Linked DNA regions of Homo sapiens: all the other regions are linked to region 7. The links are contacts of gene promoters, found by promoter capture Hi-C in blood cells and fetal thymus (Javierre and others, 2016). All regions are on one chromosome and are shown on one strand. Each heading gives the region's core, a stretch centred on a gene start or on the middle of the fragment in contact. The rest is flanking DNA. Distances are from core to core; before and after follow the strand shown.

The links. Contacts are between HindIII fragments. The CHiCAGO score rates a contact against its expected background, and 5 or more counts as called.
Region 1: a contact is called between a fragment that was not itself captured here and the fragment with the promoter of KCNH1-IT1 in region 7, in 13 of 17 cell types (naive CD4 T cells, M1 macrophages, fetal thymus and 10 more). The highest score is 14.2, in naive CD4 T cells.
Region 2: a fragment that was not itself captured here is called in contact with the fragment with the promoter of KCNH1-IT1 in region 7 in 1 of 17 cell types (M2 macrophages); the score reaches 5.9 in M2 macrophages.
Region 3: a contact is called between the fragment with the promoter of SERTAD4 here and the fragment with the promoter of KCNH1-IT1 in region 7, in 3 of 17 cell types (M1 macrophages, M2 macrophages and erythroblasts). The highest score is 6.9, in M1 macrophages.
Region 4: a contact is called between a fragment that was not itself captured here and the fragment with the promoter of KCNH1-IT1 in region 7, in 1 of 17 cell types (M2 macrophages). The highest score is 5.8, in M2 macrophages.
Region 5: a contact is called between a fragment that was not itself captured here and the fragment with the promoter of KCNH1-IT1 in region 7, in 15 of 17 cell types (fetal thymus, endothelial precursors, M1 macrophages and 12 more). The highest score is 15.6, in fetal thymus.
Region 6: a fragment that was not itself captured here is called in contact with the fragment with the promoter of KCNH1-IT1 in region 7 in 7 of 17 cell types (M2 macrophages, M1 macrophages, M0 macrophages and 4 more); the score reaches 13.6 in M2 macrophages.

The regions. Positions count from the first base shown.
Region 1 is chr1:210,392,733-210,396,101 of GRCh38, reverse strand. All of the region lies in intron 4 of HHAT (hedgehog acyltransferase), which reads right to left. Among named protein-coding and RNA genes, the nearest start is that of HHAT, 66 kb to the right of the region's middle. RefSeq lists an enhancer at 2,103-2,397. The HindIII fragment of the contact is 2,942 bases long and covers 1-2,725 here.
Region 2 is chr1:210,136,301-210,139,596 of GRCh38, reverse strand. All of the region lies in intron 6 of SYT14 (synaptotagmin 14), which reads right to left. Among named protein-coding and RNA genes, the nearest start is that of SERTAD4, 95 kb to the left of the region's middle. The HindIII fragment of the contact is 6,290 bases long and covers 1-3,296 here.
Region 3 is chr1:210,231,215-210,234,647 of GRCh38, reverse strand. It overlaps SERTAD4 (SERTA domain containing 4), which reads right to left and starts at 1,852. Exons shown (of 4, transcript NM_019605.5): 1 at 1,637-1,852. SERTAD4-AS1 (SERTAD4 antisense RNA 1) reads left to right here and starts at 763. Exons shown (of 2, transcript NR_024337.2): 1 at 763-1,013; 2 at 2,877-3,192. RefSeq lists an enhancer at 1,441-1,974. The HindIII fragment of the contact is 4,360 bases long and covers 1-3,433 here.
Region 4 is chr1:210,152,814-210,156,095 of GRCh38, reverse strand. It overlaps SYT14 (synaptotagmin 14), which reads right to left. Exons shown (of 9, transcript NM_001146262.4): 7 at 186-375. Among named protein-coding and RNA genes, the nearest start is that of SERTAD4, 78 kb to the left of the region's middle. The HindIII fragment of the contact is 6,999 bases long and covers 1-3,282 here.
Region 5 is chr1:210,410,963-210,414,303 of GRCh38, reverse strand. The region is part of intron 6 of HHAT (hedgehog acyltransferase); the gene reads right to left. Among named protein-coding and RNA genes, the nearest start is that of HHAT, 84 kb to the right of the region's middle. The HindIII fragment of the contact is 7,234 bases long and covers 1-3,341 here.
Region 6 is chr1:210,431,859-210,435,379 of GRCh38, reverse strand. The region is part of intron 7 of HHAT (hedgehog acyltransferase); the gene reads right to left. Among named protein-coding and RNA genes, the nearest start is that of HHAT, 100 kb to the right of the region's middle. The HindIII fragment of the contact is 8,555 bases long and covers 1-3,521 here.
Region 7 is chr1:211,131,822-211,135,081 of GRCh38, reverse strand. It overlaps KCNH1-IT1 (KCNH1 intronic transcript 1), which reads left to right and starts at 1,708. Exons shown (of 2, transcript NR_046784.1): 1 at 1,708-1,894; 2 at 2,056-2,803. It overlaps KCNH1 (potassium voltage-gated channel subfamily H member 1), which reads left to right and starts at 934. Exons shown (of 11, transcript NM_172362.3): 1 at 934-1,215. The coding sequence starts at 1,137. RefSeq lists silencers at 753-1,032, 1,527-1,717, 2,944-3,144. The HindIII fragment of the contact is 10,582 bases long and covers 1-3,260 here.

The DNA.
Region 1 (3,369 bases), core at 5-2,504, 740 kb after region 7:
GATGAGACATAGATCTTACTAACCCTGGTTGACTTAAGCAGGCATCCTTCCCCTCTGCTCCCTGAGTCTACACTGAACCACTCTCAAAATGGGGTCTGACTCTACTTGATAGTCTCCTTAATAGGCTAAACTCCTGCCTTGTTTAGATTACAGTAATGTAAGCCCAGAATCTAGCACAGTGCCTAGCATATATCACGTGTTTCATAACTATTGGATGGAAGGATGGAGAGAATAGTTGCATGGATGGATAGCTGGGTAGATGGATATGCTTTCCCAAGTCTTGGGATTTAACCTTGAGATCATGACTAAGAAAAAACAAGAAAATAGCAGTAAAATGTGGACTTTGGAACCCAATAATGTGAAAACCTACTGTCTTCCAAAGTCTCTACTTGTCCTACTTAACCCCTTATAAACAATGGCTGTTTTGCTAATGTAGGTAGAATGGAAGAGACATTTCACATCTCACTGCCTATTACCTGTTTGCTACTCACAGCATCTCTTAACAACTCCACTTCTGTTGGGGGAAATCTCCAATAGTTAACAACTGATGGGGCACAGGTACCAATCCAGGAAAGTGGATACCTGTTATAGAGGCTTCTATCCATCACCCCAGCAGAGTCTCCCGGGAGAATAACCAGTTGAGCTGGCAGAGCTCCAAGGATTGGTGTCAGTGCCCTTAAGAAAAGACTACAGATTTGCCCTCCTTTCTTTTGAAATCCATACTCTTAACCTTCTTCATAAGGAGTCAGGAAAAACTGCCAGACAATGCCCCTTCTCACACCATCTGTTTCTACTTCAGCTCATTCTGTGCCAAGGGTGCCAAGTGATAATAGGGTATGCCTGGTGGGTTCCCTCCTTAGAGTTTACCTCTGTAGGGAGGAGTGAAAGTGTAGAGCCTTGGTCAGAATTCCTGTTGGCAACATTATCAGACGTCCCTGCCTATTAATTCTTTTTGCACATCTGCCAAGAAACCACTCAATGGGAGCATTATTCGGAAAATAATAAAGGGAATCAATCAATCTTATGTATGACACAATTTATTACATACTACATAATCAATAGCAGCTGCTACTGAAATATATATGTATTATATATATACATACATATGTATATATAATCTCCCCAAACAGAAAAATACAACCCACCCATCCCACAGTCTGAACAACTGCATCCCATTTCCTGGGAGCAAAGGCCAGCAGGCCCACGTAAAAGGAATTTCATCCCTCCTTAGACATGCACTGATGGAGGTAGAAGGGGCTGATTCCAGGAAAACCATTAGCACATGAGATTTCTATTCAGTGGATAGATTTGGGACTGTCCTGGAAAAGAACCCTGCTCCCTGCAGCCTTCCAGAGGTTGGTTAACTCATCTCACTCAGCACCATGGGTCAGGCTTCTCAGCCCTTTGCATTACCTGCGCCTGATGAGCTCAGCCTGTCAGTCAATTGCTAATGATGTGGGTTCTCCCGTCAGAGGCACAGTGAGAACCCGGCTCTGTGGTTAGCAACAGCACCCACCCTCAACCCTACACCAGGCCAGTCTTCTCAAAAAGTTCACACGGGGGTATTTTTTGGTTCTGAGGGCAGAGAACACAATGTCTCAGGTGGTAGTGAGGCCACAGTTGGCGTTCATGAAAGGAGGCAACTGTCTGACCCGTGACATCCAATCCAATCATAACAAATGCACAGCCAAAGCTGAAAGCCATGATTCAGCCTTCCCTCCAGGGGCACTGGCTCCTGATGAAGTCTCACCAAAACCCAAAGAGAGAGCCTTATCCAGGGAAAGGGTGTTTAACTGAGCCAAGGAACTCAGTGGAAAGTTTTATTTCTTACCATGGCAAAAAAAAAAAAAAAAAAAAAAAAAAAAAAAAAAAGATAGATCATGCTTTTGAAAATAAAAATAACCTGTCACCTCTCCATGGGAGGAGGTGGAATGAGCCAAGGAAGAGACGAGATTAGATAGTAGATAAAGGAGGAGGCTAGAATCCTTCAGGGCTTAAGGCTACAACAGCAAGAATTGCTAAAGCCTGTCCCTGCATAGTGTTGCCTATAGTTTAGGATGCCTCAGAGAATGGGGAGAAAAAAGGACAACTGCAGCCTAAATCTTCCACTCTGAGTAAGTACCAAAAACAACTACCCGAATTAAGGCCATCTGGAACACTTAGTCCAGGTGGTGAAAGCAGAGAGCTAATGAGGCCAACGCTGTGGTTCATACTTATGTAAGGGCCAAGCAAACTCAGACAAAGAAAGCACTGTGCCCCAGCCACAGGCAGAACCCGGCCCACCAGCTGTCTCACAAATCAAACCCGTGGTCACCCAGAGGATGAGAGAGGCACATACAGAGGGAGATGACTCAGTGCTCACTCTGCCTCATTCCAAGAAAAATGCAAAGGAATACCTCCTACTGATATTGGATAAGATGTGCTCTGCAGAGAAGAAGCCTAGTCCACCTGTCCACCCCTGCCTGGTAACAAGATGCAGAAAGGTGAAATAAGTAAACTCCATTTCCTTCAAGCCACAGCTCAAAAGCCACCTTCTCGGAGGCCTGCTCTGAGACCAGAACGGCAGGTGAGACCTACACCTTCTCCCATAGTAACGTGCCCAGCCAACAACATCAGGTACAGAAGAGTGAGCAGTATTTGCTTTCCTAACTTCCCACTCAACTGTGACTCCCCAAGGGAAGGGGCTGTGTTTCTCAATCCTTTCCCCCAGGACCCAAGACAAGCTTGAAAAGACCATCAGTATGGGAACATTGGTATGGATGCTAGACATGGCCTATGCCCTTGAGGATTTTGGAATCTCAAGACCGTCACCTCCATTCTTGAACACCATAAACTGCTCCCAGGAGCAAATGCCAGCAGATGACAGCAGCAGACACCATCTATTGGGCTGTCCTCATGTGCAAGCATAACTCTGAAAAACATTTGATTATCAGACCCTCTCCACAACTCCACGAAGCCAGCAGTGCCATCCTGCTTGCACAACTGTGGAAGCAGCCTTAGAGATATTCAGGAACTTGTTTAAGGTTACACAGCTTGAGAGTGGCCAATGCAGGGATTGACCCTAGTGCTCTCAACCACACCAAATACTGCCTCCCACGAGAGGAGAAGCAAGAACTCAAAGGTACAAGCAAATAAAATGAAGGGACATCTATATCCTAATATAGCTAGATTTCTGCCAATGTCAGGTGCGAAACAGGAGCTGAACGTGGAGGAGGTTTGGAAAGAGGGAGGGGCATCTAATCAGGAACAGGTTATTAATATCAGTCATGCATTCTCAACAAGGGTTGTATCTCCTATAAACGAGGTGGGGTGGGGCAGATTTTGTAGGCTAGACCTAAGGATAGAATGGAAATTAAAATTAGTAATGAC
Region 2 (3,296 bases), core at 594-3,093, 1.0 Mb after region 7:
AATTAAATCATGGTGATGGCTGCACAACTATGTGAATATTCTAAAAATCATGACTTTTACACTATAAAAGGGTGAATTTTATGATCTGTGAATCATGTCTCAATAGTTATGAAAAATTACTTACAGGATCCCTATTTCAGAATAATACAATCTTAGAAAGAATCTCAAAGATAATTTAATCCAGTGGTTTTCAAAAAGTTGTAGTAAAAGTACCCTTTTGGCTGGGTGTGGTGGCTCACACCTGTAATCCTAGCAGGAGCTGGAGACCAGCCTGGGCAACATGGCAAAACCCCATCTCCACTAAAAATCAAAAAAAAAAAAAAAAAAAAAAGAAAAAAGAAAATTAGCCAGGCCTGGTGGTACACGCATGTAGTCCCAGTTACTTGAGAGGCTGAGGCACGAGAATTGCTTGAACCTGGGAGGTGGAGGTTACAGTGAACTGAGATTACACCACCGCACTCCAGCCTAGGTGACAGAGCAAGACTCTGTCTCAAAAAAAAAAAAAATAAAAGTACTCTTTAAAAAAATAAAATCTTATTCCACGTTCAAATACATGAAACAGGTAAGTATAGCATTGTATTAGTACATTTATTACTGAGCTCAAATTATAACAGGCTATTTCAATAAAAAATGAAATTTGATATTTAGGTTTGTTGGTAACAGTTTAGTCATATATTAACTTTGCATCCAGTGTTTGTGTTTTATTTTATGTATAAAATCAATAAAGAGCTGATAAGTTGTGAATTACCTTGTCTTGCAATGTCAGAATATTAATTCATTGAACTGACCAAGAAAATTGAAAGATAAAGTTAGGGAACATTACAGAAACTTTTTAAGTTAAACCATTACTATAATGATTGCTTATATTTTAAAGAAAACTACCCTGATTTTATGCAAATAATTAAAACTACCTGATTTTTTAAATATAGAAAAAGCAGTGACTGTGATGTATGAATTTAGTATTAATAGAATTTTTTTGGCAGACATATATAGGACTAAATTAAACAATATATAGCAATTAAACAATATATCAACACCAACCTATAGCTATTCCCAAGTCACAATTACAAGAATTTCAAATATATAGAGAGATATGGGAGAAGTGGCTTTATTAGTAAATCTATAGAAGACAAAAAAGTAGATAGTGAGTGATATGGTTTGGCTGTGTCCCCACCCAAATCTCATTTTGAACTGTAGCTCCCATAATCCCCACATGTCATGGGAGGGAACTGGTGCGAGGTAATTGAATCATGGGGGTGGGTTTTTCCTGTGCTGTTCTCTTGATAGTAAATAAGTCTCATGAGATCTGATGGTTTTATAAAGGGCAGTTCCCCTGCACAGGCTCTCTTGCCTGTCGCCATGTAAGATGTGACTTTGCTCCTCATTTGCCTCCACCATGGTTGTGAGACTTCCCCAGTCATGTGGAACTATGAGTCCATTAAACCCTTTTTCTTTATAAATTACCCAGCCTCAGTATGTCTTTATTGGCAGTGTTGAGAATGGACTAATACAGTGAGTTAACATGTAAACAATTTCCAATAGATTAAAATTTAGTACACAGCATGTGTTTATGTTGATTTTTTTTTATTTACCATTTTAAATTATAATTAAAAAAAGAGGCTGGGCGCAGTGGCTCACGCCTGTAATCCCAGCACTTTGGGAGGCTGAGGCGGGTGGATCACGAAGTCAGGAGTTTGAGACCAGCTTGACCAACATGGTGAAACCCCGTCTCTACTAAAAATACAAAAATTAGCTGGGCGTGGTGGCGCATGCCTGTAATTCCATCTACTCAGGAAGCTGAGGCAGGAGAATCACTTGAACCCAGGAGGCGGAGGTTGCAGTGAGGTGAGATTGCGCCACCGCACTCCAGCCTGGGTAACAAGAGCAAAACTCCATTTCAAAAAAAAAAAAAAAAGAAATTTGAAGCAAACATTTCCAGAATCCCAGAGCATTTCTGGAGAACATGGTTCAAATCAACCTACTCTACCTATTTACCTTAGAAATGAAAAAAAAAAATAAGGCCTGGAGAGGTTAATTAAATATCTTTCTGAAAGTTTTAACATATCTAGTTGTTCTGGAGAAAATGGACTAGGACTTAGGATTCTGGACTCTTAATTCGAATGGTCTTTTTACTAAGAAGTCTAAATCCCTTATTCTGTTTTTGAGGATCTTTATAATCTGGCTTCATCCTCATATTCACTTTCATTATTTTTCCCTCTATAATTCACAAGAGTAGTGAGGTCCCCACATTTCTACCAAGGAAGAGTGCCAGTGGGATGGTGATGATTTTTGGTGGGGGTATGGTAACTGCCCATCAAGAATGTGAGCATAGGAGGTGAAGGAGGCTGTGTCCTACGAGTTTACCTTTCAAATCTGGGGCCCACACCTGCCTCCTCTTCAGAGTTCCCGATATTGTTTGGGCCTTCAGAGGGGATTGATACAAATTACAAAATTGGGTAAGTCCCTTCAAATCTGCCCAAACACTGACAGAAATTCATTTGTATAAAATTTTCAAGCATATGTTACCAGGATCCATGAGGCACTCCTGCAGATTGTGGTTCAGTCTGAAGCTCCTGCCATCTGACTGTACCATCTTCTCCCTCTCAGCAATGTTTCAACTGCTAATCATCTAGTGAGGCCTGCTCCTTTAGTGAAGAATTCCACCTGGCTCACAGATTCCCCTGTACCCTAACATCTCTCTGACTTAATGTGACTTAAGGTGAATTAAATTTCCACATGAATGATCCTTCTAACAGTCTGCACACTAAGTTATTTGATTTTCTCATCTCTAATGACTTCTCCCTCCCAGTCTCACTATTATTTATTGGGCCTCGGCACCACCAGAGGCTACGGTGAGGTCTTCGCCAAAGTTACTAAGTAAAACAGGTGCTAACTACACCTCTTTTTTCTAACATAATTTGCCCACTCAACTGCTCTCATAACACCATGCTTTGACTGGACCTTCAGTGCTTGACACTATACTTTTTGTTCATCAGCCCCTTCTTGTCCTTACTTCTTCCTCTATCAAGCTGGCATTCCAAGCTGCCAAAACGCTAACCTTGGAAGAACCAATTAACTCCTTGATTGTACTAGGAAAAGCATCACACAATGGGATGAATTGGAACTTTGGCCATCATCTGGCTATACTTACAATCTAGTTATACTTCTCGGGTAAATTTATTTTTCCATTTCCCCAATTATTATAAATCTTCCATTTTCTAAAATCAGCTGACCCAGTTCCATTCTCCTAAAATCACTGACCCCGTTCCCTTTCTCCTTACTCATTCCTGCCTCCT
Region 3 (3,433 bases), core at 603-3,102, 900 kb after region 7:
AAGGGCTATTTCCACCCCCGATCGATGCTGCCAGTTTTAAATGGCATCAAGCCCCTGACCTCCACATTGTCCCAAAATGATCTCAATAGCTTGTCCGGCTCCTGGTGGTGGTAGTGGAAGGGACTGGATGGGCGGAACAAAATTCTTCAACCCTTCTAAACAAACAGATGTCGCTTTTCTGCCGTTCCTGCAGTACACCTGTCTGCCCTGGGAAGTACATTTCTCAGCTGCAGCCCCGCGAGGCCAAGAGCTTGAAGCTGGGTCCTGTGGTTGGGGCTGCAGGTGCTGGGCCTAAAGAGCACGAAGGGGTGCTCCGATGCCCGAGCCCTGGTGCCCAAGGTGTGTGTGTGTGTGGCGGTTGCGGGGGTGGGGTCCGAGGTTTGGAGGGCCGACCTCTTGAAGGCGGGCGGCAGCCACCAACCACATCCTGGCTCCCGCACAGACACACCCCCGGGGTGTCGGTGCCGCAGCCCTCAGCCCCTCCCCGGGTAGCCAGCAGCGCCCGGTCGGCCGCTGGCCGCAGGAGAAAGTAAACAACACCCCAAGTGTCCGGGAACAAAGGCAAGTTGTCTTTCTACGGTGCCGCAGCCGTGTGCCTCTTCTGAAGAATAAGAGCTATTATTATTCTTTATGTCTTATCCTTTTTTTTTTTTAAAAAAAAAACCAAGTTTCCTTCTAAGGGAAATAAACACCAAAGGTAGGATTCCAAGGAAATGACTCACAGCGGCTGGCAGGGCTCTGGCGGGGCTGGCCCGGGCCCCCGCGCTCCAGCCCGCAGCAGATGTCGGCCCGGCCTTCCCTCCCTCCCTTGCCGGCCAAACCCGCTGGAAGCCCGCGGTTGCGGGAGCGCCCTGCGCCCGTGGGACCTGGCGGCGAGGACGCCTATTCCCTGCTTCTGCGACCACAGCTGGGCACTCGGAAAGTTGCTAGGGCCGAAGAGGCGGGAGGGGAGGAAGGGAAGCGAGAGGCGGAGGCGTGGACCAGGCGGGCAGCAGCCTCAGCCCGCCGAGGAGGTGAGCTGAGGACAGAGGAGCCGCCGCCGCCCGCAGCGCAGCTCTGCTGCCTGGGAGGAGGGTGCGGGGGCGGAGGTGGCGGGGGACAGAAGGTGTCAGCTACTGCATCAATTCCTTTTTCTTGCAAACGCGCGCTCCTGACATCCACAATCCCTCTCTCCCCACCTGCCAAGCGCCGCGGCATCCGGACCTGGGGGCACCCCTCCTACTTAACCCCTTCCCCTACGATGAGGGACTAAGCGGCCACGGAGGACCATGAGGTCTCACCAGAGCTTCTGACCCCACCCGCCCCTGGAGTTGTCTCGGTGCGCGCGGGTGGCAGCCCGAGCAGCCCTAGAGGAGGCGGCGGTTCCCGCCCTGGTGAAGGCGCCGCGGCGCACGCTAGCCCAGGGAAAAGCCCGCGCCGCCTCCGCGCCCAGCTGTGCCTTGGCCCCCACGCCGCCCCGACTCCGCTCCGGCCGCTGCGAGTCCACTCGGTGACCTCGGCACAGCCCTGGTGCCAAGAGGGCGCGCGGGAGGCCGCGTGGGTGCCCGTCTGCGAGGGCAGGAGCCCCGGGGGGCCCTCGCCCTCCACCCTGCCCGGCCCTCCCGCCCCCGCGGCCCGCGCCCAGCCCGGCTCTTACCGCGGGGTCAGCGGGGAGGCGGCGGCCGCAGCGCTTGAGCTGCTGCTGGTCCGCTCTGGGCTCGGCGCCAGCCCGGCCGCCGGTGCACACTCGCGGGTCCCGGCCCGGCCGCCCGCTCGGCGGTGACTGCGGGTGCGCGGCGGGCAAGGGTCCCGGCAGGTCCCGCCGCCGCGACTGGGGCGCTGCGCCGCCGTCGCTGCAGACGGTTATGGTAATGAGCGGCTCTGTCTAGCGAGGAGCGTGTGAAACCCGTCAATCCTGTTTGCCATTTCCCCGTGGATTTCCGAGGAGAGGTTCTGCAGGATGCCCCCAGGGTGAGAGAGGGAACATGACAAGCGCGCCCGCTCTCCCTCCCTCCCTCTGCTCAGGCCGCCGCCGCCGCTCCTCAGGCTGCACACGGGGCGCCTTTCCCGCACCCCCACCCCAGCCCGCCCCCTGCCTCCTTCCCTGCTTCCCGCCCTCCCTCCTCCTTTTCCTCCCCTCCCCTCCCGGTGCCCGGGGACACGCGGGCCCAGCTCCAGCCCGCAGCCCAGACCCCACGCGCTCTCGGGCTCCCGCCCTAGCCCTGGGGGCTTGGCTCCAGCCGAATAATGTATTCACTCTGGAACCTTCCGAGATATCTTGTCTTTTTAAATTTGGTTTAGTTTTGTTGTTGTTGTGTGTGCGTGTGATTAAAAAAAAAATCTGTGCCTTTCCCACCCTTTGCAAAAGACTTTCTTCTCCTTTGCCACAGCAAACGGAGATGAGAAACAGATGTCTTTGCAGGACCAAACAGTTATTCTCCCTCGCCGCCCGCCCCCGCCCGTTTCCCTCCTGAGCTGCGTACGTATTAAAAAAAAAAAAAAAAGCAACCTTGGTCCTGCTGCAACTTGAATTGGCAACCCTTTCTGGGTGGGGAGCCTCCAGGGAAAACCTCCAGGAAATAAAAAGTAATACAAGAGATTGTCCTTGCTCAAGAGAATGTAATTTAAGCCTTGGAATCAGAATATTTTGCAAATAGTAATTTTCTCCTATAGTGGCCTCAGAGTTTATTTTTTAAAATCATTAATTCATAACTTCTGTCTAGGGACCCCTCCATAGTCGAGATGGGTCATTTCAGGTGTAATGAAGGCAGAGGCTTGGAAGGCATAGACCTAATAAAATCGGGAGAAGGCACCTGCACAAAAGTGTTACAAAGACTATAATGTTTGTTTACTGCCACTATACCAGATGTGCTAAATATAACACTTCTTTAAAACAGTGATCCTCCGACTGTGAAAAACCAGACCTCTGGCTGCCTGGCTCCCTAGGAATCAAGAAGACGCACAGACTGAAAATCAAGGGAGGAAGGAACAAGATCAAGGATGAGGATTAGCATCTGCAAATTGAACTCTATCTAATTTGCATGTTTATTTCTTAGAATTGTAATTAAATTTGTGTAATAAATGTTTTCCATTTCATTTGTACACTTAAAACTTGGGTGACTGACATGCAGTTAAGTGAATTTCCTTTTTTTAAAAGCAAATGTAGATTATTCAATAAAGCAGCAAACCAATATTAAACATAATTAGAACTAATTTGTTTTGAAGGTGTTTTTGTTGAACTTTGTACATTAAAGACTCTCAGAGGTTTTAAGGGTATTAGGAAGCTGAGAGATGGCAATTATGCTTAAAACAGATGAACCCAACAGCCTACCAAGAGCATTATTTCATTTTTTCCAAAAGACATTCCAGGGTTGCATGCCTAAAATTGGGAATTGGGCATCCATCTTGGCTTTATTCTGAACCATATTAAATTGCATTGGCTCATGCATGATGT
Region 4 (3,282 bases), core at 432-2,931, 980 kb after region 7:
ACTTTGAATTTCAAATTTTTCTACTTCCCAAATGACTGGAAATAGAAAACATGAAACAGATTAGCTGATGATTACACCATTTCATTTTGATTGGTTAAGACTAAATGATAGGATTGAACTCCCTAATACTGAGAGTCCCAAAAGTGCAGAAAACATTAGAATTAAAAAAATTATTTTTCACTCACTGGGTGGTCTGTTTGCTGCCAAATTTTTGAAGTGGCTGCCTTTTATCACTTCTGCTGATAGTCTTCCAGTTGTGGCATTATAAAGCAGGCCAATAAGAATTTCTGGAACTGAGCCATGTTCAAGAGACTGACATGAGGATGTACTTTCACTACACGACATTTCTGACACGCTCATTTGGGAGTCACAGCCCTGTAATCAATAATAACATTTTTATAGTATTTTGCAAGAGAGATATATTAAGAGATATATTGTTATGCCATGTTTATTTGGATTAGGTAGGTAAATCACAATAAAGATGAGTTGCAAACCAAACACCAGATTAGAATTATTGTCCTTAGCATATTTTAGCCCCTGGATTTCTTTTCATTATGTAAAAGCCAAAGAAGTAATAGGAAATGAGAAGATTTCATAAATCCCTGCATATTTATAAGGAAATAAGAGCAATGTTGCTTAAACTTATAGATGCTAATAAACTGTTTTTTGAATATGAGAAATTATTGTTTAAAGATTATCAACCTTAAAAGACTGACAAAGATTTAGACTCAATACATCAAATGTCCTAACTGTGCCTTTAAATAAACAAAACAAAACTACCTGCTATTTATAAGCCAACATCTAAAACACAGAGATATAGAAAAGTTGAAAAACATGGGAAAAATTAATCATGTAAAAAATAATCAAACAAATTGATGTAGTTACATTAGTATCAGTCAGGGTTGGCTTTAAGGCAATAATCACCACTAGAGATTGAAGAAGTATACAAAATGATGATAAAACATTGAAATTACTAAAAACTAAAATAATCCCAAATTTGGATGCATTTAATAACATGGACTCAAAATACAGAAAGCAAAAATGGCCAGAACTAGAAAGAGAAACACAGACATCCATAATCACTGGGTACATAAGCACACTTCCCTCATTAACTGACCAAATTCAGTAACTGACCAAATGGGTGGACAAATAAGTACCATAAGGATGTAGAAGACTTGAATATCACAATAAGCAAAATTGACCTAATGGTCATATGCAGAATATTATACCTAATAACTACAAAATATAATTTTCCCAAGTACACAGAATTTTTAAATTAAAGCAAATAATAATTTCAAATGATGAAAATTATTCATAATGTTTTTTGATTGATTAGAAAACCAAACTCTGTTCTAGAGGAGAATAAAATATCTATATTTTTTGGAAATTAAAGGTATACTTTTAGTAACCCATAGGTAACTAAATGATAATAAAAATAAGTGATTTGAAAGACTAATAAAATGAATAAATTTCTGGAGAGTCCAATTAAGAAAAAAGGGACGAATAACAATGATCAGGAATGAAAAAGGAGACATCACTACATATTCTAGAGACCATGAAAAAATAATAGGATAGGATACTAGAAGAAAGTTGTTTCTTCTAGTAAATTTGAAATTTGAATGAAATATACCAGCGATCTCCAACCTTTTTGGCACCAGCGACCAGTTTCCTGGAAGACAATTTTTCCATGGACAGGATGTAGAGGGTAATCTAATGCTGCCACTGATCTGACAGGAGGCCGAGCTCAGGCTGTAATGTTCGCTAGCCCACTGCTGCTCACCTCCTGCTGTGCGGCGCCCATTCCTAACAGGCCATGGACTGGTACTGGTCTGTGGCCGGGGGGTTGGAGACCTCTGAAATAGACATCTTTCTAGAAAGTTATTACCAACCAGAAGAGATGCTGGAAGACTGTTCAGAAACAGTCTTACTAAAGAAATTGAATTTGTAATTAAAAGCCTTTCCAAAATACACATACAAAACAAAAATAAGAAACTTTGGCCTAGATGGCTTCACTAGTGAATTCTAATTAATAATGCTAGTTTTACACAAACTCTTTCAGATATTAGAGAAAGAGAAACCACTCCTCAACTTCCTTTAAGAATTTAGCAAAATATTAAAACCAAAATCTAATAAGGGCATTATAAAAAAGAAAAATTACAAGATTTTCTCATTCATGAATCTAGATGAAAAAATCCTAAATATACATCAGCAAACCAAATCTAGCAACATGCAACATCGTACTTAATAGCAAAAAATGTTAATGTTTCCCCTTTGAAATTGCCAACTATTACTACTTTTAGTCAACACTGTAGTGGAGATACCAGCTAGTGAAGATCCTAGCCTTACTAAAGACAATAAAATGAAATAAAAAGTATAATGATTTGGAAGGGGACTAGATTTTTTTAAAAAGCCCTTATGTGCAGATTACATAATTATGTACACAGGAACAAATCTACAGATGAACTGCAGTTGTATACAGAGGTAAAATTTAGAAATCCATACATTACTATATATCAGAAGCAAACAGAAAATAAAATTTATTAAAATATCATTTATTATGGCATTTAAATATAAAATATGTAGGAATAAATGTAACAAATGATATGCAAGGCCTCTATACAGAAAACTATGAACATTATTGGGAGAAACCAAAAAGTACTATATAAACTGTTACTGTATTAGCTCAATTTTGTAACATTCTTTCCAAATTAATCCATAGATTAAATTCAATTCCAATAAAAATATCGGCAGGTTTCTTTGAATTGTTTGACTTCATTAGTAATCAGGGGAATGGAAATGAAAACTATGAGGTAACGCTACACAACAAACAGATGAGCTAAAAGAATACCAAATGTGGTGAGGACAAAGCACTGGGAACTATCATAGTTCTCTTGTAGAAATGTGGAGTGATACCAATGTTTTAAATGTTATAAATACACATACCCTATGATCTGGCAGTTCCACCCCTACATATATACCCATCAGAAATAAGTGCAGTGTTTATCAAGAGACATATGAAAGAATGTCCATAGCAGCATTACTCATATTGGATCCAAGCAATAGAATGGATAGTTTGTACTGAGTTCATACAATGGCATACTATACAGCAATGAAAACCAATTATAACATTTACAAATGTGATTTTAAGTAAAACATGTTGGGCCCAAAAGGATACCAGCTGCATAATTCCATTTATGTAAAGTAAAAAAAACAAACAAAAAAATCAAACAACCCAAAAACCAAAACCTCAAACCAAGCAGAACTAAACCATTATGTTCCCGA
Region 5 (3,341 bases), core at 684-3,183, 720 kb after region 7:
ACGGTACTAGGAGGTGGGGCCTTTGAGAAGTGATTAGGTCATGAGAGCAGACCCTTCATGATTAGGATTAGTGCTGTCATCAAGGAAACCTCAGAGAGTTAGCTAGTTCCTTCTACCGTGTGAAGACAGTGAGAAGGTGCCAATCTATGAACAAGGAAGCGGGCCCTCACCAGACACTGAATCTGCCAACTCACTGATCATGGAATTCCCAGACTCCAGAACTGTGAGCAATACATTTATGTGGCTTATAAGCCAACCAGTTTATAGTATTTTGTTACAGCAGCTCAAATGGACTACGGCAGAAAATCAGTACCAAGAGTGGGAGTGCTGCTGTAACAAAATACCCAAAAATATGCAAGTAGTGTGGAAGGGGTAATGGATAGAAGCTGGAAGAGTTTGGAGGTGCATGCTTTAAGCAGTATACATTGCTGTAAATGGATCTTTAAGGGAAATTTTGGCAAGGGCTCAGAAGGAAAGGAGAAGAGCTGCAGAGAAAGCCTCAATATTCTTAAAGAATAGCTGAGCAGTAGTGAACAGAATGTTGGTGGAAATGTGCATGGTAAAGGCCAATCTGATGATTTCTTAGACAAGAGAAACATGGTATTGAAAACTGAATGAAAAGCAATCCTGTTATGAACCAGCAAAGAACTTGGCTGAATTGTGTTCGTATCCTAGTGTTTTGTGGAAGGCAGAATTTGTGAGTAATGAAATTGGATATTTAGCTAAAGCCATTTCTAAGCAAAGTGTTGAAGGTGCAACTTGGCTCCTCTTGACTGTTTATAGTAAAACAGCAGAGGAGAAAAGTGATTTAAAGACAAAATTGTTAATCAAAAGGGAAGCAGAACTTAAAGATTTGGAAAACTCTCAGCCTTTCCATACTATCAAGAATGAGAAAGCCTGTTCAGGAGAGAACATCAAGAATGTGGCCAACCAACCACCTGATAAGGTTAGTCAGCTGTTTAAACAGAAGCCAGGACCTCCTGTCCAAGACAATGGAAGAGTGATCACAAAGAGAATTCAGTCATGAAAACTATTTGTGTTCAATGTGCATAAAATAATGAAAGGCTGGAAAGATATACACCAAATGTCAACAGTGGTAATCTTTGGATGGTGAGATTTTAGTTATGTTTTACAATTAAAATTGGTTCTTTTCAGTCAGAGAAAAAGTAATGTAACATTATAATACTGTGAATATTTTGACCCTCTCTGCTGCCACCATCATCACAGGCCAGAGTGCAAAGGCCTGGGGGACAAAGCAATTGCAGATGCAAAGGAGGGGCTGTCACTGCCCAGTCCTGCCTCACATTGTGGGCTCTGCTCCCCACTCCCCGTCACCACACTCCTTGGCTGCCCCAAGGGTGGCTCCTGTGGGCCCCAGTGCAGTGTAGTTGGCACTGCAACCAGAAAAGCTGTGAGGGGGTGTGGCTGCCTCCACCTAGATTTCTAACAATGCCTAGAGAGCCATGGGGCCCAGACAAAGAACTGCACAGAGGCAGGGCCCAGCAGAGCCATGAGGGTGGCACTGTCTCATGACCCCAGACCAGTAGAGCCACCAGCTCAAGATTCTGGCCTGGGTGATCTGCAGGAGGCATAACCCCCTCCCCACCACCATGTGTCCAGAGGCACCCCAGTGTGTCTGAGAGGTGAAACCTCCACCCTAGTGGGCCTGGAGGGCAGAGTAATGAGCCAAACATGATGATTCCTGAGCCTTAAGGTTTTGGACTTCCTCAGGAGCTTTTACTCCTTTCTTCTTTCCAATTTCTACCTTTTGGAATTGGAGTGTCCATCCTATGCCCGTCTCACCATTGGATTTGGGTGTACAGAGCTTGATTTCACAGGCTCACAGCTGAAGGGGAATTTGCATAAGGATGAATCATACCTTGAGTATCACACACATCTGACTTAGATGATATTTAAATGAGACTTTGGATTTCAGACACTTGAGTTGGTGCTGGAACAAGTTAATACTATTGGGGCTATTAGGATGGAATGAGTGTATTTTGCATGTAAGGAGGCCATTAATTTTCAGGGGGCAGGGGCAAAATATTATTAATTGAATGTTTACATCCCTCTAAAAATTCCTATGTTGAAATCCTAACCCCCAAGGTAATGGTACTAGGAGATGGTGCCTTTAGGAAGTAATTAGGTCATGAGGGCATTCTTCATGGTTGGGAATAGCACCCTTATAAAAGAGACGCCAAAGAGTTAGACCCCTTCCACCACAAAAGCACACAGTGACAGGTACCATCCTGTGAACCAGGAAGCAGGCCCTTACCAGACATCAAATCTGGCAGTGTCTTGATCTTGGACTTCCCAGCCTCTAGAACTGTGAGAAATAAATTTCTGATGCTCAGAAGCCATCCAGTTTATGATATTTTGTTATAGCCGTCTGAATGGACTAAGATACATACTATCCATTAGTCTGTAGAGGCTAGAGGAGTTCACACCAAGGTTAAGACATGTAGAGGCATGTAGAGGCATGTAAGACATGTAGAGGCAGCAAAATCACTCTAGACCAATGGACAGGTCTTTCCTGGCACCCAGACTCTTTTCTTTATGACACAGGGTGTCACTCTATTGCCCAGGCTAGAATGCAATGATGTGACCCTACCTCATGGTAGCCTTGGCTCAAGCAATCCTCCTGCCTCAGCCTCCCCTGCAGCTGGGACTACAGGCATGTACCACCACGCCTGGCTGATTTTTTTTTATTTTTTGTAGAGCTGAGTTTCACCGTGTTGCCCAGGCTGGTCTCGAACTCCTGGTCTCAAGTGATCCTCCTACCTCAGCCTCCCAAAGCACTGGGATTACAGGTGTAAATCACTGTGCCCAACCTGCTCAAACTCTTGGAGAGAAGCAAGTCTTCTAGCTGAACGTGATAATGGCCTCAAAAGCAGTGTTGACAGCAGATAATCTTCACACAGACAAATGTCTACAGTTTCTAAATAAGCCAACTGTGCATATGGCCTACAGGCTCTTCAGCATAACCTACCCAAAGCTCAGGTTCCCTGAAGGCCAGGACAGTACCTCGGGCCTCCAAGCAGCATTTGGTATGGAGCCCCATCCCAGGGAGTGGAGAGATAGCAGCTGGACTGGAAGGGAGCCAGGAGGAGGCCAGAACCAACAGCCCCCAAGATAATCAAGAAAATATCGCTGACACCCAATCACCTCTCAGCTCCAGGCAATCACGTTTCAAGGTGAATTCAAAGGCCTCCTTTCCCTCCTCAAACATGTGCATTCTAAAATGACACAAATATCTGTAATTAAGAAAAATCATGAGGTACATTTTGTCATGCATTGGCTTCTTAATAATGACTTACCTACTTTTCACAAGCTAAAACTTC
Region 6 (3,521 bases), core at 834-3,333, 700 kb after region 7:
TGTCCATTAATGAATGGAGTTAAAAAATTGAAATATATAGACAGTGGAATATTATTCAGCCATAAAAAAGAATGAAATTCTGTCATTTATAGAAACATGAATGGAATTGGAGGTCATTATGTTAAGTGAACTAAGCCAAGCACAAAAAGATAAACATTGCATGTTCTCACTCACATGTCAGAGATATAAAAGTGAATCTCATCAAGATAGAGTAGATTGGTGATTTACCAGAGGCTGGGAAGGGAAAGCAGGAGGGGAGGATGAAAAGAGGTTGATTAATGGGTACACATATACACTTAGAAGACAGAAGACCTGCTGTTCAATAGATCAACAGGGTAACTATAGTTAACATTAATTGATTGTATGTTTCAAAACAGCAAGAAAATAATTCAAATGTTCCTAGTATTTAAAAAGGTAAATAAGGTAATGGAGATCTCAATTACTCTGATTATATGAATGTATCAAATTACCACATATACCCCCAAAATATGTACATCATATATCAGTTTTACAAGTTAAAAAGTTTTCTTAATGAAAAACATAAAAATTAGCTCTAAACGATTACCTGTATTTTCTTATTTGCTGTGTAATGCATTTACATGTAAATTTTAGCTAGTATTTCTCTTCATTCCCATCTCTTTCCCCTTCTATTTAATATAAAGGTGTCAATGGTAGCTAACTCTACAACTGAGCCCACAGTTGTAGGATATTAACATTATGGCCAAATTCCAGGAGATGTGGACACTCCCTTGAGCCCACTGAGAGCCTGGACTTGAATAGTTACTTGGGGAAAGAGATGTGTGTATTTTCAGCTGTATAAGAGATAGTGTGTGTCTTCCTGAAGGTGTCCAGTCTGTGGTATACCCCTTGAGGACTATATCTAATAACATTTCCTTGCTTAAACTTAAACCTTGTTTGAACTCGGCCGACATGGAAAGGAGCTGCTCAGTACCCTCTTCCTGAACATTCCTGCATATTAAGAGAATTCAGCCTCCCACTGGCCTTCAGAAAGCTATAATCACTATCACATTTCCCACTAGTTTCTGATTGCTTTTAGTTACTGAAAGCAGAAACATTTAAAATTTCCCCCAAACTATGTCCATTTTCTCACGTCTGATTATTATTCAACCCTGGTCTATATTCCCCCGAATGAACAGTGGCAACCATGACCAAAGTCAATCACGACTCATTTGCCAAAACTGAAACAGACTTTCTTCATTCCCCTCTTATTGGCCTCTCTTCAACTTCTGATAAATTGTGTACCTTCTTCTTTTTTAAACCTTCACAAGACACTTGTTTACTTCCTCATTAATTAATATTCCTTCTGATTCATTGATAGCCCTCTTTTTCTATCTACCTGTCAAATATCAGTGTTCTCTAAAGTTCTATCCTTCCAGTAAGATATGTCTAATGCAGGTGCTGGGCCAGCCACAGTGGGGGCAGAGGTAACCCCATGTAGACTGGTACAACGCTGGTGTGGACAACATCCACAGCCCAATGCCCTGCCCAGGCAGTGCTCAGGAAGATCTTCCTGGAGCCTGGCCTCCACCTGAGAGCCTGATTACAGCAGCTCTAACTCTCACTAGAAATTGAAGGAGAAGGTTAAAATTAATAATCATCATCAACATCACCCTGAAAAGAGAGAAAAATAAATGGGAAGAAAATTTTAGTTTGATATCTCCAGGAGAGGATTAAGGGAAATGAAAGAAAAACAAATGTCACCCTGTTGCCATGGAGCTCCCAATGTCCTCTCAATCCCAGGGAGTAGCAACGGAGCCCTGACAGACAAGCAGCCACCACTGTTTTTTTTCCACCCCCACCAGGAGAGGATTAAACACCTTCCATGGAGTATGTGAATATTTCTCTCCTTTGATTAACCACATCAAATCAATCCCACGAGAAACAACCTCTATTTATATTCTCTATTTCTGTTAACTTGCAGCGATCCCTTTTTGGAGCAATAATGTACGACGCATGATTTCCCTTTGCTGCCTTATGCAAAATCTTGTATCAATCACTCATCTGGATATCTGGCTGCTCACACTAACACCAATCTGATGTCAACTGCCAGGCAGAGTCCCTGTGAAATTTTACTTCACCTGAACCTGCAAGTGAAGTACTCATTAAGCACCTGCGCTGTGAGTGCTGCAGGAGAAAGACCCCAGAGGCAGTGGTATAGGCGCATCTCTAAAGCAGCTCTCACTCAGCTTGGGGTGTTCAGAGGGGGTCATTCCTGGACAGGGTAGAATGTTACCCAGTCCTGAGATTTAGAGATGAAGGATCTGTTGTATATCTTCTTCCATGTAAGACAAAGAGACATCTTTTACTGTCTGTGCTGCTGTCTCACACTTAACCGCAACTTTTGGATGGAAAAAAGGGCCTTAGTGGAATGAGAGCCCTGCCATCGAGAGGTTAAAAGTGACAGAATAAAAAAATTACAGTATCTCTGTATTAGTTCAGAAGGAAATCAGAGGCTGCCACCAGGGCCCAAAGCTCACATGCCTTCTGCAAACCTTATAACCCCCTTATGCTTATTTTATCTTTCTGAAACATCTCAAGAAGGATTAGCACCAAAACCTTGAAGCTGAAGGTGCCCATGTGCTGGAAAGAAAGGGGATGTTTGCCATGCTATACTCCACATCATGGCAGCCTGGAGAGACGGAGACCCTGAGGAGCAGCCTGGAAATGGCAGGTCCACCAGAAGGTAAAAAGATGCAGTCAGGACCCACTGGGCTATGTGATAGCAAGGCCATCTAAGACTACGTGGCAGTTAAGTCATCATTTAACACAACTAAAGCAGCATATTAGCTTCTGCCTCTATTTTTTCACCTTTGATTTATTCTGTAGCCCTGGTCTTTAGTCCCCCAAAATGAACAACGTCAACCATGACCAAAGTCAATTATGACCTCCCATTTGCCAAAATGAAAGACTCTCTTAAATCCCCTCTTACGCAGCCTCTTTTCAACCTCTGATAAATTGAGCTTTCTTCTTGCAACCTTCACAAAACCACTGGCTTCCTCCTTTGTTTATTAACATTCCTTCTCATTCGTTACTGACTCCTTTTCCGGCTCACCTCTTAAATTTTAACATTCTCTAAAGTTCTATACTTGGCCCTCCTTTATTCTCATTCTACACATTTTTCAAGGAAGTCCTTTTACTCCTGTGGCCTCAGTTATCACATGTGTGCAACAGTTCCCACGTACCTGTCTCCATTGCCAATCTCACTCCTGAGCTCCAGTCGCATCCCTGGGAAATTGGTTCCCAGAACCCCTACAGATACCAAAATCCATGGATGCTCACTTTTCAGGGACACTTTTGAGAATGAAAGAAACTATTAATAATGATATCAGGAAAACAGATATAGAATAGGACTGCAAAATGGGATATTTGGTCACTCTACAAATCATAAGCCTCAAATTAATTGTTTTAAGAGTCGAATAAAACAATTATAACATTTAAATCTTCTATTTTCTTGGCTGCCTATTATACTACTTTTCAAATTTTCCAATTTGAAACACTAC
Region 7 (3,260 bases), core at 459-2,958:
TTGACTCAGTCTGAAACTAGTAAACTCTCCATTCATTTCTCCTGTGGGACATAGGCTTAGTCTCCCACCGCACCGACTGGGGATACATAGTAAAAAGGCAGGTACAGACTATGTGTGGGTCGAAATCCCCCAAAATAAGTGAACAAACGACCGTTGTCTTAGCCCCTGTCCAGAAACCTTGGGTGTATGTGGTTCTTCCGTATACCAGGGGTCAGCTGTAAAAACTAACTGTATCCTCTGCACTACAGACTACCCTTCAAGCCAAAGCCACGGTTGCTTAATTAATGCTGCCCCTCTCCTGAGCATTCGCCCTTAGAGACAAGTCCACCCCTTTGATGTTTGTCAGGCAGTTTGATACTGATCATACCAAACATCAGGAGCCTGCATTTGTGTCTACGGTAAAAACAACCCAAGACAACTCTTCTGAAGCTGAATCTGCCAGTCACTCTAAATCTGCACTATTGCAATACGACTTCATTAATTACTGCTCAAACACTGGCCTAGAATCAAGGTGGGGCAACTTTCACTAGTCAGGCTAACCTTACAGGAAGGCAAGAAGGTGTTCCCAGAGCCTCACAGGTCCCGGGGGCCCCGGCCTGAAACAGAGCAAAGGAAGAGAGTTACATCAGCACGCTCCCCTAAGACTTGTTGGGGGTGAATCCGCCCTGAAAGCTGCTCACAATGCCCTCCTCTCCACCCAGCCCATGGCACATCCTGAACACATTTCCCGGCTGAACCCAGAGGGTGGCGCTGCCGTCCCAGCCTTGGTCCACGGCCGCCCGCCACTTCCCTGCCTCTGCGGGAGCCCCCCAGCTTGGTCTCCCGCAGGCCGGCGGTGGGGCACGAGCCCGGTAGGGGGCGCCGCCGGCCCAGGCGCCGCTGCTCCCTCCGCCCACCCGGAGGCGGCTGCCGCTAGCCGAGGCCGGCGCGAGTGCACTGCGAGGCGGGCCGCAGGGAGGGAGGCGCGAAGAGGGCGCGAGGGTAGCAGCCAGAGGGAGCCGCCAGCCCTGCCTGCGGATCCCCGCCGGGCGCATGGGGCGCTTCGAGCCGGGACTGCGTGCGGGCCCCGAGGCCAGTTTCCTGCTGTCGTAAGAAGCCGCGCCAGGACGCCCGCCGGACCCCGAGCTGCTGGGAGGATGACCATGGCTGGGGGCAGGAGGGGACTAGTGGCCCCTCAAAACACGTTTCTGGAGAATATTGTTCGGCGGTCCAATGGTAAGAGGTGCATTCGGATTTCGATTACCCGGGCGTTTTATCCGTGCCTTTATTGCAGAACCTCTCGCCGCTCGGAGCCAGCAGATGCAGCAGAACCCGCGAGCTCTGCTAAGGAGCCGCGGCGCGGGCACCCAGGGCAGCCTCCCCGAGGCAGAGAAAGGTGGGCAGGGCGGGGCGGGGTCTGATGGGTCCCCATCCTAACAGGAGAGCTCTTCTGGGGACGCCTTTTGGGCCTTTCTAGCGCCCTCTCGGTCTTATCTCCAAGGATGCGTGACAGCTGCTGAGCAAAGTACTGGGAAAAGTGATGGAAAGCTGGCTGCAGCCGGAGCGGCAGCGCGCGCCCCATCGGCACTGCCCACCCTTCCGCGAAGGCTCTGGGGCTCCCGGGCTGCTCCCAGAGGCGCCGCCTCTCCCCAGGGAGAGCCAGCAGTAGAGACGGGCAACTCCAGGTCCCCGCTGCCTCAGAATGGGAGGATCCGGCTGCCTCCACCTTCCATCCCTGCAACTGAAAAGTCCGAGGTGTCGGGACGTGCTCTCGGCGGCCTGATTCCACCCCTTCACCCACCCACCACTTTCTAGGTGAAGTTAAGGCTCACCTTCGAAGTGAGGGGCAGATGGTTTTCCTGGCGTCAGGTGGGAAGTGGAGGGCACAGGTGCAGAGCGAACTAAATGGTCACAGGTACAAACCTGTTATATTTCCCCTCTTCCAAACCCACAACGGTTTTATGCCACCCTTAAGTGTTGCTCACCTATAAATTCCCAATCTCACCAAACCTATAAATAGATCCATTACCCAATAAACTGACAATCAGCACTCATCTGTTTCCTTGTGGCATTAAGATCGACGGTAGCATGAAGCCTTGAGAGGCGAGAGTCCTAGGAGCGGGGATGGAAAGGAAGAATTCCAAACGCCTTTCGGACTTAACAGAGGAGAGACCCCAACTAAGCACTTGCAGAGCGACTAGGAGTCCTGGCAGTTGGAAGGCGCAGCGCACGAGTTCATCAAATGGCTATATTGAAAGATAGCCAAGCATAAGATGCTCTTTGCAGACTCCTAGAGCCCCCACCCCACCCCTTCCAGAAACAGATGACATTCTTCTACCAGGGAGACATGAGGAGCTAACTTAGGAAATGGGTTTTAATAATGTGTAAATATCACGATTTCAGAGTCTAAGGAGCTTCTGTGTAAAATGATGAGCTTCTGTTTGGATTTAGTTAGGGATTCAGGGGAAGGGCATGAAAAGTGACTTATGCTACTAATAAACACTCTTTAATTAAACAGTGATTTAAGTTTATCTTATAATGAAACACATCAACTAGCATAGCAAATAATCACGTATTATTTAAGTACTTTCTTAGAAATGATCATTTCTTTATTGTGTGCCTCTTAAGAGTGTTTCTGGTCAGTCACCTTTCCTTTCAAGGTCTTCCTTATTCAAACTAAGGTGGCTTTTAGGTCAAGGTCACAGTCATTACCTGGGGATGCAAGGGGATGATAATTGCTATGTGAACAGCCACAATGAACTGTTTTGCCATAAAAAAGCTGGAGTTGTTCATTTATTTTTAAATAAAATAAGAGTTACTGTGCTATTATTGCTATTTTTATTGGACTATTAAGGGGTATGGAGACAATCTTGCAAATTTGGTTATCCCATTGTCAGTGACACCAACTTTCTCATAAATATCAATGACAATTCTATTTTTCAGTAAAGAGGCAGTGCCCTGTAAGTTAGAGGGGAAACCCAGTACCTAATGTATACTGTGTATGTTTTTGAGTGGAGGGAGCAGGAAGAGAAACTTACATGTAAAAGTCACAAGATGCCTTGGGTTTTAAGGGAACCTTAAGAATCTTGGAGCTGTGAAGGCAGAATACTGTCTATTTTAGTTGATCTTATTAGAGCCACTTTCCCTCTGTAATCATAGAATGTGAATAGAATAAGTCACTGGGAATATTTTTAGGATGGGCATTGTCATTTCAACACCAGTTTCAGCAGGTTGATTTCAATTAACCAATCAAATGAATAGCATCAAAAAAAATGAAGCAT